3 separate regions of the Homo sapiens genome follow, and all the other regions are linked to region 3. The links are contacts of gene promoters, found by promoter capture Hi-C in human tissues and cell types (Jung and others, 2019). All regions are on one chromosome and are shown on one strand. The core of a region is centred on a gene start or on the middle of the fragment in contact, and the rest is flanking DNA. Distances in the headings are between cores, read along the strand shown. Region 1 holds the start of GALP (galanin like peptide). Region 2 holds the start of ZSCAN5B (zinc finger and SCAN domain containing 5B). Region 3 overlaps ZSCAN5A (zinc finger and SCAN domain containing 5A).

What was found. The method cuts DNA at HindIII sites, captures the fragments that hold promoters and counts their contacts. A contact is called where the count stands out against the background at its distance.
Region 1: a contact is called between the fragment with the promoter of GALP here and a fragment that was not itself captured in region 3, in 2 of the 25 tissues and cell types used here (H1 embryonic stem cells and heart left ventricle).
Region 2: a contact is called between the fragment with the promoter of ZSCAN5B here and a fragment that was not itself captured in region 3, in 2 of the 25 tissues and cell types used here (H1 embryonic stem cells and liver).

What each region holds. Positions count from the first base shown.
Region 1 is chr19:56,174,395-56,178,328 of GRCh38, forward strand. It overlaps GALP (galanin like peptide), which reads left to right and starts at 1,614. Exons shown (of 6, transcript NM_033106.4): 1 at 1,614-1,668; 2 at 2,676-2,801. The coding sequence starts at 2,715. RefSeq lists enhancers at 749-1,299, 1,300-1,850. The HindIII fragment of the contact is 7,717 bases long and covers 1-3,934 here.
Region 2 is chr19:56,196,289-56,199,932 of GRCh38, forward strand. ZSCAN5B (zinc finger and SCAN domain containing 5B) reads right to left here and starts at 1,495. Exons shown (of 5, transcript NM_001080456.5): 1 at 1,446-1,495. The HindIII fragment of the contact is 13,117 bases long and covers 1-3,644 here.
Region 3 is chr19:56,264,029-56,267,684 of GRCh38, forward strand. All of the region lies in intron 2 of ZSCAN5A (zinc finger and SCAN domain containing 5A), which reads right to left. Among named protein-coding and RNA genes, the nearest start is that of EDDM13, 6.9 kb to the right of the region's middle. The HindIII fragment of the contact is 5,945 bases long and covers 1-3,656 here.

The sequences.
Region 1 (3,934 bases), core at 364-2,863, 90 kb before region 3:
CTTGGAGAAACAGCGGAGGGGGCTCAGGAGCCCACCAGGGTGTCTGTAATCCCCCACGTCGTCTTCTCACTCCATCCCTCTCCTGGGGTCTCCCTTTCCCCTTGGGATGAGAAAGGATGGGGTAAGGGCTGATGGGGATGTGTAAAGACAGGACAGAGATACAAGTGCCAGCCACAAACCGACAGAATGCTGGAAGGACCTTGGAGGCAATGTGTCCTCCACGGTGGAGAGGAGGAGACAGAACCCAGCCAGGACCAGGGCGTCCCCTCTGTCCCTTAGACAGCAAAGGGCAACAGCAAGAGTAAAACCTCTTCCAAGGTTCTTTCCTCTGGAAAGCAGGTGACGTCAGGGCAAAGAGAGAGCGTGCTGCAGAGACAGATAGATCAACACACATGACAGGAGAGAGACGCAGCAACGACACACTCCTTATTCGTTCACCCAACAAGTATTGAGTGAGCTCCGGGCACTGTTTTAGGGGCTGCTGTGAGGTTTCTCATCTTTGGAGCTATTGACTTTCGGGGCTGGGTCCTTCCCATCGGGGAGGCCTTTCCTGAGCACTGTGGGAGGCTGAGCCGCGTCCCTGGCTTCCACCCACGAGATGCCGGGAGTCCCTCCCAAGTCCCAAGTAAAGATGTCTCCAGCCGGGCGCGGTGGCTCACGCCTGTAATCCCAGCACTTTGAGAGGCTGAGGCGGGAAGATCACGAGGTCAGGAGTTCAAGACTAGCCTGGCCAACATAGTAAAACTCCGTCTGTCTCTACTAAAAATACAAAAAATTAGCCGGGCGTGGTGGCGGGCGCCTGTCGTCCCAGCTACTCGGGAGGCTGAGGCAGGAGAATGGCGTGAACCCGGGAGGCACAGCTTGTAGTGAGCCGAGATCACAGCACTGCACTCCAGCCTGGGCGACAGTGCGAGACTCCGTCTCAAAACAAAAACAAAAAAAACGAACAAACAAAACTGTCTCCAGACTTGGTCACATGTCCTGGGGTGAGGCTGGGGCAGCATCGGGGCAGAGTCACTCCTGGTTGAGAGCTTCCGGCCTAGGGACGCAGCCATGAACAAGACACAGTTGACACCCCTCATGGGGTCTCCTTTAGCCAGGGTGGTAGGTGGGGGGCGGGGAGATAGACAGCTCACAAGTAAACAAATAAACAGGGTCTACCGTGCAAGACAGAAGAAATGCAACTCAGTGAGGGAGCTGCGGAGGCTTGGAGGGATTGATGGGGGCAGAGGGGACAGGGCTACGGAGACACCAGTGGCAGGTGGAGACAACCAAGGAAGACACAGGTCAAGGCCCAGACGCAGATAAGAGGGAGGGAGGGAGCCCTCGAATAGCTGCAAAGTCTGGAACAGGACAGCTGGAAGATAAAGGGGCACAGAAGGAGGGGGAAGGGCAGGGTCTACCAGGGGAAACCAAGGCACAGCAGCATTTCCCGCGATGAAGTGTGTGTTTTGACCTCACAGACCAGCGTTTGAAAGCCCCTGGAGTGGATGACTGTTCCCCCACCTCCATCCTCTTCACTCCCTCTCCCTTCTTCTAATCCCCTCCCTTTCCCCCCTCCCTTCTATTGTCTCCTCAGAAGGCATAAAAGCTCAGGGGGCGTGAAAGAGTCCAGGCGCTGGAGCGAGGAGCCAGAGAGAGCTGCGGAGAGCTGCCAGCTGCAGCGGGGTGAGAGCCTAGGCCAGGAGGGCAGAGGGGCGGATCCCAGCTGCACCGGGGTGAGAGCCTAGGCCAGGAGGGCACAGGGTCGGCTGCCAGCTGCAGCGGGGTGAGAGCCTAGGCCAGGAGGGCAGAGGGGCGGATGCCAGCTGCAGCGGGGTGAGAGCCTAGGCCAGGAGGGCACAGGGGCGGATGCCAGCTGCAGCGGGGTGAGAGCCTAGGCCAGGAGGGCAGAGGGGCGGATCCCAGCTGCACCGGGGTGAGAGCCTAGGCCAGGAGGGCAGAGGGGCGGATCCCAGCTGCACCGGGGTGAGAGCCTAGGCCAGGAGGGCAGAGGGGCGGATCCCAGCTGCACCGGGGTGAGAGCCTAGGCCAGGAGGGCAGAGGGGCGGATGCCAGCTGCAGCGGGGTGAGAGCCTAGGCCAGGAGGGCAGAGGGGCGGATCCCAGCTGCACGGGGGTGAGAGCCTAGGCCAGGAGGGCAGAGGGGCGGATGCCAGCTGCAGCGGGGTGAGAGCCTAGGCCAGGAGGGCAGAGGGGTGGATGCCAGCTGCACCGGGGTGAGAGCCTAGGCCAGGAGGGCAGAGGGGTGGATCCAAGCTGCACTGGGGTGAGAGCCTAGGCCAGGAGGGCAGAGGGGTGGAGGGAGTGAGGGGCTCCTGGGAGAGTGATGGGGGGCTTGAAGGGATGGGGATAACAGGAGAAACCCCAGCATTGGTGGCAGGGAAAAGGTGAGGGGCAGGTAAGGGGACGGAAAGGTTTGAAGATGGAGTGGTGGAGGCAGTGGGGCAGAAGGCATGGGCGCTGGGGGACCAGGTCGGCCTGATCCGATGATGGGGGAAGGAGAGGCTTAATTGCTTGCACACGTCCAAACTCCTCAAGATGTGTACATTAAATGTGCGCCATTTTTGTATCTCGATGATGCCTCCATAAAGCTAAAAAATAAATTCCTCTGTCCTTATCGGAAATGCACCTGGCCCCCGCTTCGGAAAATGACTGGCCGCTCTCTCCTTGCAGCGTGTTCCGCAGCTGTAGGCACCTGTCGTCCTGCCTTCGATGGCTCCTCCCTCCGTCCCCCTGGTCCTCCTCCTCGTCCTCTTGCTGAGCCTGGCAGAGACTCCAGCATCCGCACCTGCCCACCGGGTAACGCCTCCCTAAGTTCCTCGGAAACAACAGTGTCCCCAAATCCCTGCCCTCTGGGAAGAGTTTTTAAAAATGCTTCTGGCTTGTGTCAAGGGTCCTGGGGAAGAAGCTCAAATCCTGAAAATATGAGAAGAAATATTGCGTGTCTCTACTAAAAACACAAAAATTAGCCGGGCATGGTGGCACGTGCCTGTAGTCCCAGCTACTCAGGAGGCTGAGGCAGGAGAATCGCTTGAACCTGGCAGGCGGAGGTTGCAGCGAGCCGAGATTGTGCCACTGCACTCCAGCCTGGGTGACAGAGCGAGACTCCATCTCAAAAAAAAAAAAAAAAAAGAAGAAATGGGGTTTCACCATGTTGGCTAGGCTGGTCTTGAACTCCTGACCTCCTGGCTTCAAGTGATCCACCCGCCTTGGCCTCCCAAAGTACTGGGATCACAGGTGTCAGCCACGGCACCCAGTCTGGGACGACACTTTGAAAACCTTTGATCACACACCTCCACAGCATGGGCTGTAGAGGCTGGGTTGAGTTTGAAATCCGGGATCTGCGACTTTCTAGCTGTGTGACTTCAGTCACATTGCCTAACCTCTCTGGTCTCTGAGTGGATCTTCTTTGTCCAATTCCAGCACTGTGAGAGTTAACAGTTAACTCGGATGGCAGGCAGCTCTCATTATTTAGCCAAGAGGATTAAATAATTAAGAGATGTTGGTCCAGGGATACACAGTTTCAGTTAGACAGGGGAAATAAACTAGATCTCTGGTACAGCATGGTGGCTGTTGTTCATAACAATGTGTTGTATACTTGAAAATTGCTAAGAGAGTAGATGGATGTTAGGTGTTCTCACCACAAAAAAGCTAAGCACATGACGTAATGTAGAGGGTAATTACCTTGATGGAGTCACTCCGCAGTGTAGCCGTATTTCCACACGTGTTGTGCACCACGCCTGCATTTAAAATGCAGTTTTTTTCTAACAAAAAAAAAAAAAAGAGGCCAGTCCCAGTGGCTCACTCCTGTAATCCCAGTACTTTGAGAGGCCAAGATTAGAGAATTGCTTGAGCTCAGGAGTTCGAGACCAGCCTGGGCAACATAGTGAGAACCTCCATCTCTTAAAAAAAAAAAATTAACTAGGTATGGT
Region 2 (3,644 bases), core at 245-2,744, 68 kb before region 3:
TGATCCCTATGCCTCGGCCTCCCAGAGTGCTGGGATTACAGGTGTGAGCCACCGCACCTGGCCATTAAAACTTTTTTTTAAAAAAATAAAAGAAATAAAGTTAAATAGGTCTACTGCACAGCATGGTGACTATAGTTCACAGCAATGTACCGTATACTTGGAAATTGCTAAGGGAGTCGATTTCAAGTGTTGTCCAAAAATGATAAGACAGTGAGGTAGAGCCTATGGCAGTTTGCTCGATTTAGCCGTTGCACAATGCGTACACACCTTGACACACTATGCTGTGCACCGGACATATACACCATTATATATTTATATTTCTCAATTTGAAAGTAAATTAGGCCTGGTGCGATGGCTCACTCCTGTCACCCCAGTGCTCTGGGAGGCGGAGGTGGCAGGATCACTTCAGCCCAGCAGTGAACCGCGATTGTGCCACTGTGCTCCAGCCTGGGAGACACATCCAGCGGCCATCTCGTTTTGTTTATTTATTAAGTAAATCGATACATTTTTTAAAAGCATACAGATATGAGAAAAGGCAGCCTGAAATTCTGGGAATTAAAGAGGTTTTCCCGCCAGGTTCCCTAAGCGCCCCTGCTCAGAAAGCGGAGATCGAGGCTGAGGCGGGCAGATTGCTTGAGCCGAGGAGTTCGAGACCAGACTGGGCAAAGCAGCGAGACCACGTCTCTATAGTAAATAAAAAAATGCACTCGGGCGGTGTGGTGGTGTGCTCCTGCAGCCCCAGCTAGGTGGAGGCCGAGGAGGGCACATAGCTTGAGCCTGGGAGTTCCAGGCCAGCCTGGGAAATGAGCGAGACCCCGTCTCTGAAAAATAAAATGAAACAAAACCTAACCATGATGAGAAAGTTAACATTATTACTTTATTTTTCTCCTTTTTTTTTTTTTGAGACGGAGTTTTGCTTTGTTACCCAGGCTGGAGTGCAATGGCGCGACCTCGGCTCACTGCAACCTCTGCCTCCTGGGTTCAAATGACTCTCCTGACTCAGTCTCCCGAATAGCGGGTATTACCCTAACCTCTGCCTCCTGGGTTCAAACGACTCTCCTGACTCAGTCTCCTGAATAGCGGGTATTACGGGCGCCCGCCACCACGCCCGGCTAATTTTTGTATTTTTGTTAGAGTCGGGGTTTCACCATGTTGGTCAGACTGGTCTTGAACTCCTGATCCCGTGATCTGCCCACCTCGGCCTCCAGAGTAGCTGGGATTACAGGCGTGCGCCACTGGGCCCGACCGAGAAAGTTAATATTATTCCTAGTTTACAGAAGCACTTCATCGCCAGTCAGAGTTAATCATGGGGTGCAAAGGAGACCCGCTGCCTTCACAAAGTCTCCGAGAAAATAAATGCATGAGAAAATAAACCCAAACTTTCTGAAACCAACCCCCCGCATGCCAGCTCCGAAACCCCACAGCCATCGCCGCTGGACACTCACCTCCTTCCCGGCTTCTGCCTCCGACCTTCTCGGTCTGGGATGCGCTCTCCAACCGGCCTGGAGCTGAACTGCGTCTATTTATGGAGAAGCGGGACTCCAGGCCGCGTTTCCGGTTCCCTGCGCCGCGCCGTGATTGGTTTAGGGCCACAGAGTCCATTTTCGTAATCGGCGTTGATTACATTTCCCACTGAAACCCCACCCACAGGAAATTAATGTATTAAACGTGCCTACTGTGCAAATAATACAGGTTTTCCCGCTCTACTGAGTTGTCATATTGCTGAAGTATGTGGAGGCCTCAGAAAATATAGATCTGCAAGTTTTAACCACTTTGGGTCCCCTCATGCCACAGACAGTAATATCCTAACAAGTAAAGGACGTGTTAAGAGCTGGTTGACTTCGCTTATTAAAACAAAACGGAAAAAGAAAAAAAAAAGAAAAATTCAAAATAGAGTTGGTTGATTAATATCAAACCAGTGATTTAATCTCATTTTTAATCTCATTTGAGCGAAGCTTTCACACGCGAATTCCAAGATGTTGAAAATTGTGGACACTCGTTGATATGTAATGAATGTTTGTGATAATTTTTTACTTTTTTATTTTTTTCAAAATCTTGGAATTGGCATGTGAAAGCTTTGTTCAAACTAAACTAAATCACTGATTTGATATCAGCCTTATATAAAAGCAGTGGGAACCAGAGAAAGGCACATGGTCCCCACTCTGCATTCATTCCAGGACGGTGATAGGGTGGTTTATAGATACACTGAGGGTCCTACGGGGTTCCCTAGTTCTCAGCCCCCTCAGTTAGGGCTCTCAAGCAAGAAAAGCCTTAACGGTGGGTGTGAATTTTACTGTGTGGATCATGGAGTTAATGTGGAATGATAATTAAGTGCTAGGCAGGATTAGATTACAATTTGGGAAGTTCACACCATCAGTTGGATGACACTAATCCATTCAAGTAGTGACTCATTCATTTTAATTTCAGAGGAAACCTTCTCGTCTAACCTTTAGGACAAATTGGAGGGCTGTTAATTTTACACTGATTCTGGTTTAAATCCTTGGAAAATCTTAAGCCGCTTCACTCTGGGAACTTCAAACTTCTTGTGACTAGAACCTTCCTGATGTGTTGTTTTGAAGATGCAATAAGACTGGGTCAATAAAGTGCTCGATACAAGGTCATTTTGCCAAACAGTTGTGACAATTATTTTCTGGTGCATTTTCTCATACTTTGTGATATTTTCCCTTCTTAACCACTGAGGTGTTGACAATGGGTTGGAGTTAAGAATGGAATTAATGGCCGGGCGCGGAGGCTCACGCCTGTAATCCCAGCACTTTGGGAGGCCGAGGCGGGCGGATCACGAGGTCAGGAGATCGAGACCACCCTGGCTAACACGGTGAAACCCCGTCTCTACGAAAAATACAAAAAAGTAGCCAGGCGTGGTGGCAGGTGCCTGTAGTCCCAGCTACTCGGGAGGCTGAGACAGGAGAATGGCATGAACCCGGGAGGCGAAACTTGCAGTGAGCGGAGATCACACCACTGCACTCCAGCCTGGGCGACAGACCGAGACAGCGTCTCAAAAAAAAAAAAAAGGAATTATTCACTGGAATTAACTGGGAGCTGCCTAAACCACCATCTTCCTATCTGCTTCCCCCGAATCCTCCCCTCTGGAAACTCACAGTCTATTTCTGTGAAGTATGTTGTTGGTATTTTGGTAGGGATCGCATTGAATCTGTAGATGTCTATTAATAGTATGGTCTTTTTCACAATGTTGATTCTTCCCCCTACGAACATGTCTTCCCATTTTCTGGGGTCCGCTTTAATATTTTTCATTAGTGTTTAACAGTTTTCCTTGTGGAAATCTTTCACCTCCTTAGTTAAATTTACTTCCAGGGTTTTGGGGTGTCTTTTGCTCTTGTAAATGAGATTGCTTTCTTGATTTTTTTCTTGCCACTAGTTCGTTGTTGGTGTATAAAAACACTACTGATTTTTGCATATCGACTTAGTATCTGGCCACCTTACTGAATTGGTTTATCAATTCTAAGAGTTTTACTGGTGGAGGTTTCAGGGATTCTTATAGATGACATCATGTTGTTGGCAAAGAGAGACAATTCGACTTCCTCCTTCTGAATTTGGATGCCCTTTGTTCGTTGCTCTGGTTGAGACTTTCCCAACACATTATTATTAACGAAGGTCACCAGGCT
Region 3 (3,656 bases), core at 492-2,991:
GCATGATCTTGGCTCACTGCAACAGCACTATCTTGGCTCACTGCAACCTCCGCCTCCCAGGTTCAAGCAACTCTCCTGCCTCAGCCTCCTGAGTAGCTGGGATTGCAGGCACCCGCCACCTCACCCAGCTTAATTTTTTGTATTTTTAGTAGAGATGGGGTTTCACCATGTTGGCCAGGCTGGTCTCGAACTCCTGACCTCAAGTGATCCACCTGCCTCAACCTGCCAGTGTTGGGATTACAGGCATGAGCCAGCACACCCAGCCCAAGAAAGACTTTTTGGACACTATCTCAGGGTAAGGGAGTAGCAGGATTGGGATTTACACCTGGATCTGACTCTCAAGCTCATGCTCATTCCACTACAGAAAATGACCTGTTTGTTCAGGTCTTCCTATTAACTGAGATCTTCCATCTTCCAGGAATGATGCAGTACATTCCAAGAAAGATGTGTTATGGAAGTGACATCAGATCTGAATCCTGAAGTCAAAGTTTCATTTAGTAGAAATCAAGGTAAGATGAGGAAGTGTTGGGAGACTGGACTATGAAGTATGAAGAGTCTGTATCAGAGGCTGGCAAACTATAGTTGACCATTTGTTTTTATAAATAAAGTTCTATTGGAACATAGCTAGCTCCCCTTGCTTATGTATTGTCTCTGGTGGCTTTCTCACTACAGTGGCAAAGTTGAGTAATTGCGACAGGGACCATATGGCTAACAAAGACAAAAATAGTTACTATCTTGCTCTTGACAGAAAAAGTTTTCCTACTCTTGATCTAGGTCACACTAAAGCTTTTAGTCATAAATGCTATCCTAGGGCTGGGCGCGGTGGCTCATGCCTGTAATCCCAGCACTTTGGGAGGCCGAGGCAGGTGGATCACTTGAGGTCAAGAGTTCAAGGCCAGCCTGGCAGACATGGTGAAACCCCGTATCTACTACAAATACAAAAATTAGCCAGGTGTGGTGGCAGGCGCCTGTAATCCCAGCTACTCGGGAGGCTGAGGCAGGAGAACTGCTTGAACCTGGGAGGCGGAGGTTGCAGTGAGCTGAGATCACACCACTGCACTCCAGCCCGGGTGACAGAGTGAGACTCCATCTCAAAAATAAATAAATAAATTAAATAAATGCTTATCCTGTATGTAATGTTGAGCCATGGAAGGATTTGGAGTAGGGGAGACACATGGGCTTATTTCAGAATTACAAAAAAACCATTCTCAGATCCATCCTAGCACAGGGCACTCCCATGATAAAGGCATCAACAACACAATTCCAAACCATCTTCACTTCTCAATCTTTCACCTTGAATACCATTTCAACAAATATTAATTGAGCATCTAGTATGCACCTATACTCTATGTAAGTGGTTAAAGCTGTAAGCAAGCAGTAAGGCTTGAAACTTAAAGCTGGTGGAAAGTAAACTGAGGAAGTGAGCTTTCTCTTTGAGAGATCCAATGGAAGGAAGACTATGTACAGAAGGACAGCAGCCAGAGGTTGCCTTAGAACACAAACAGAGCTGAACTTCTTGAATCAAGCAGGTTTTTTGGGTTCCAGTGGCAGAAACGGACTTTGGCTAGCTTAAAAGAGAAATCACTGGAAGGAACTGGCAAAGGGGTGGAGTTCAAAGGATTAAAGTGAAGGCTGGAGAGTGGGTTTGGGAAAGAGTGAAGCCTGGGAAACCAAGAGATTTCTGTATCATGAGCCACTCAACACTCTCACCTGAAAAGCATTAAATCTGCTTCTTCCACTCTTGCTTTACTCAATTCGAGATTTAAAGTGCCAGGTAAGCAGTCTGATTAGCCTGGCTTAGGACAAAGGTTGGTTGGCTTTAGTGTAAAAATAAGGATCTGGTGCAAGGAGCTTTGAGGGACCCTGCTTGCTTTTCATTATGAGAAAATGGGCACGTGCATTAACTATCCCACCAGGACCACATACAGTGGAGCAGAGGTAATTCTTCCAAAGGAAATCAGGGTATAGAGACTTAGCAGCTAAACAAGTTCACAAATGTCAATCATACCTGTATAGATTCAAATCCTACCTCTTCCAATTATTGGCTTTGTTGACTTTGGGCAAAGTTATCTCATTTGCAAAGAGAAATTATAATACTACCCAGCTCTTAAAATTATGAGCTAATAGATATGAAGTGCTTAGAACCACGTCTGGCACATCATAATCACCCAATTAAGCTTAACTGCTGAGAGTATTATGATTATTACTGCATGCTTGCTAAAAATAGCACCAAGTGATAGAGCCCACGGTGAGATCTAGGCCCTCATTCCAAAGCTCCCGCTCTTTCTGCCAAGCCAAGCTGCCTTTGCAGATCCAACCTCAGTTAAATGAGATGATAATGTGTGTGAAGTTGTTGGGGCAGGTGCCCAAAGAGGATGCTCAATTACTGTCCAAGACTTTCTTCCTCTCTCCCCAAAGAAGTGAGTAGGCTTAGGCTTTGCTTTCTGCTTGGGAGATGCCCCCACTTTTTTTTTTTTTTTTTTTTTTGAGATGGAGTCTCACTCTGTCACTGAGGCTGGAGAGCAGTGGCGCGATCTCGGTGCCTGGTTCAAGCAATTCTTCTGCCTCAGCCTCCCGAGTAGCTAGGACTACAGGCACCTGCCACCATGCCCGGCTAATTTTTTGTAATTTTAGTAGAGACGGGGTTTCACCATGTTACCCAGGATGGTCTCGATCTCCTGACCTCGTGATCCACCTGCCTTGGCCTCCCAAAGTGCTGGGATTACAGGCGTGAGCCACGGTGCCTGGCCGGAGATGCCCATATTTAATAGAGAACCAAGTGGGTGTAAGAGGGCCCAGGGAAAGCAGACAAAGAGGAATGTTCCTGGTTTGTGCTTACTATCATTCTCACGGCGGAGCCCACTCAGGTTTGTTGACAATCTGGCCCCTGCCTACCACTCTAACCTCTCCTCCCTCCACATTCCCATGAGCTTACCCTGCTCCATCCACAATGATCTTCTTTCTGCGTGTCAAATTCCTTCTGCTTTTTTCTGCCTCGGGGTCTTTGCACAAGCTGTTCCCTCTGTCTAAGCTACTCTTACCCCAGATCTTCATTAGGATCTAAACTCAAATGTGACCATCTCAGTGAGGTCTCTCCTGACAACTCTAGCTACGGCAGCATCTCAACCCCATCGGTCTCTAACACATGGCCCTATTTCAGTTTCTTTGCAGCAATGACCAGTACATGAAATTATATATGTGTTTGTCAATATTGTTGTTTGTCTTCCTACACCAGACTATAAACTCCACAGGGTTAGAGAAAGTGCATCCCCAACACCGAGACTGCTTGGTTCACAGAGGGTGCTTTTACACATATGGCTCTGTCAGAACTGTCATAGCAACCCTGTTAGGTATATAGTCTATTAAGGCTGAGAGGCGCTTAGTATCATGATTTAGAGCAGCACTGTCCAATATATGTAGCTATTTAGATTTACCACGTAGCTATTTAGATTTACATGCTTCATAATGAAATAAAATGAAAACTTCATTTCCTTAGTTGCATTAGCGTCACCTCAAGTGCTCAGCAGCCGCACGTGGCTAGTGGCCACCATTCTGGGTAGCACGGATACAGGACATTCCTATCACTGCAGAAAGTTCTACTGGACAGGGCTGGTTTAGAGCATTCACTGCAGATTCATATACTTAGCTTCGAATCC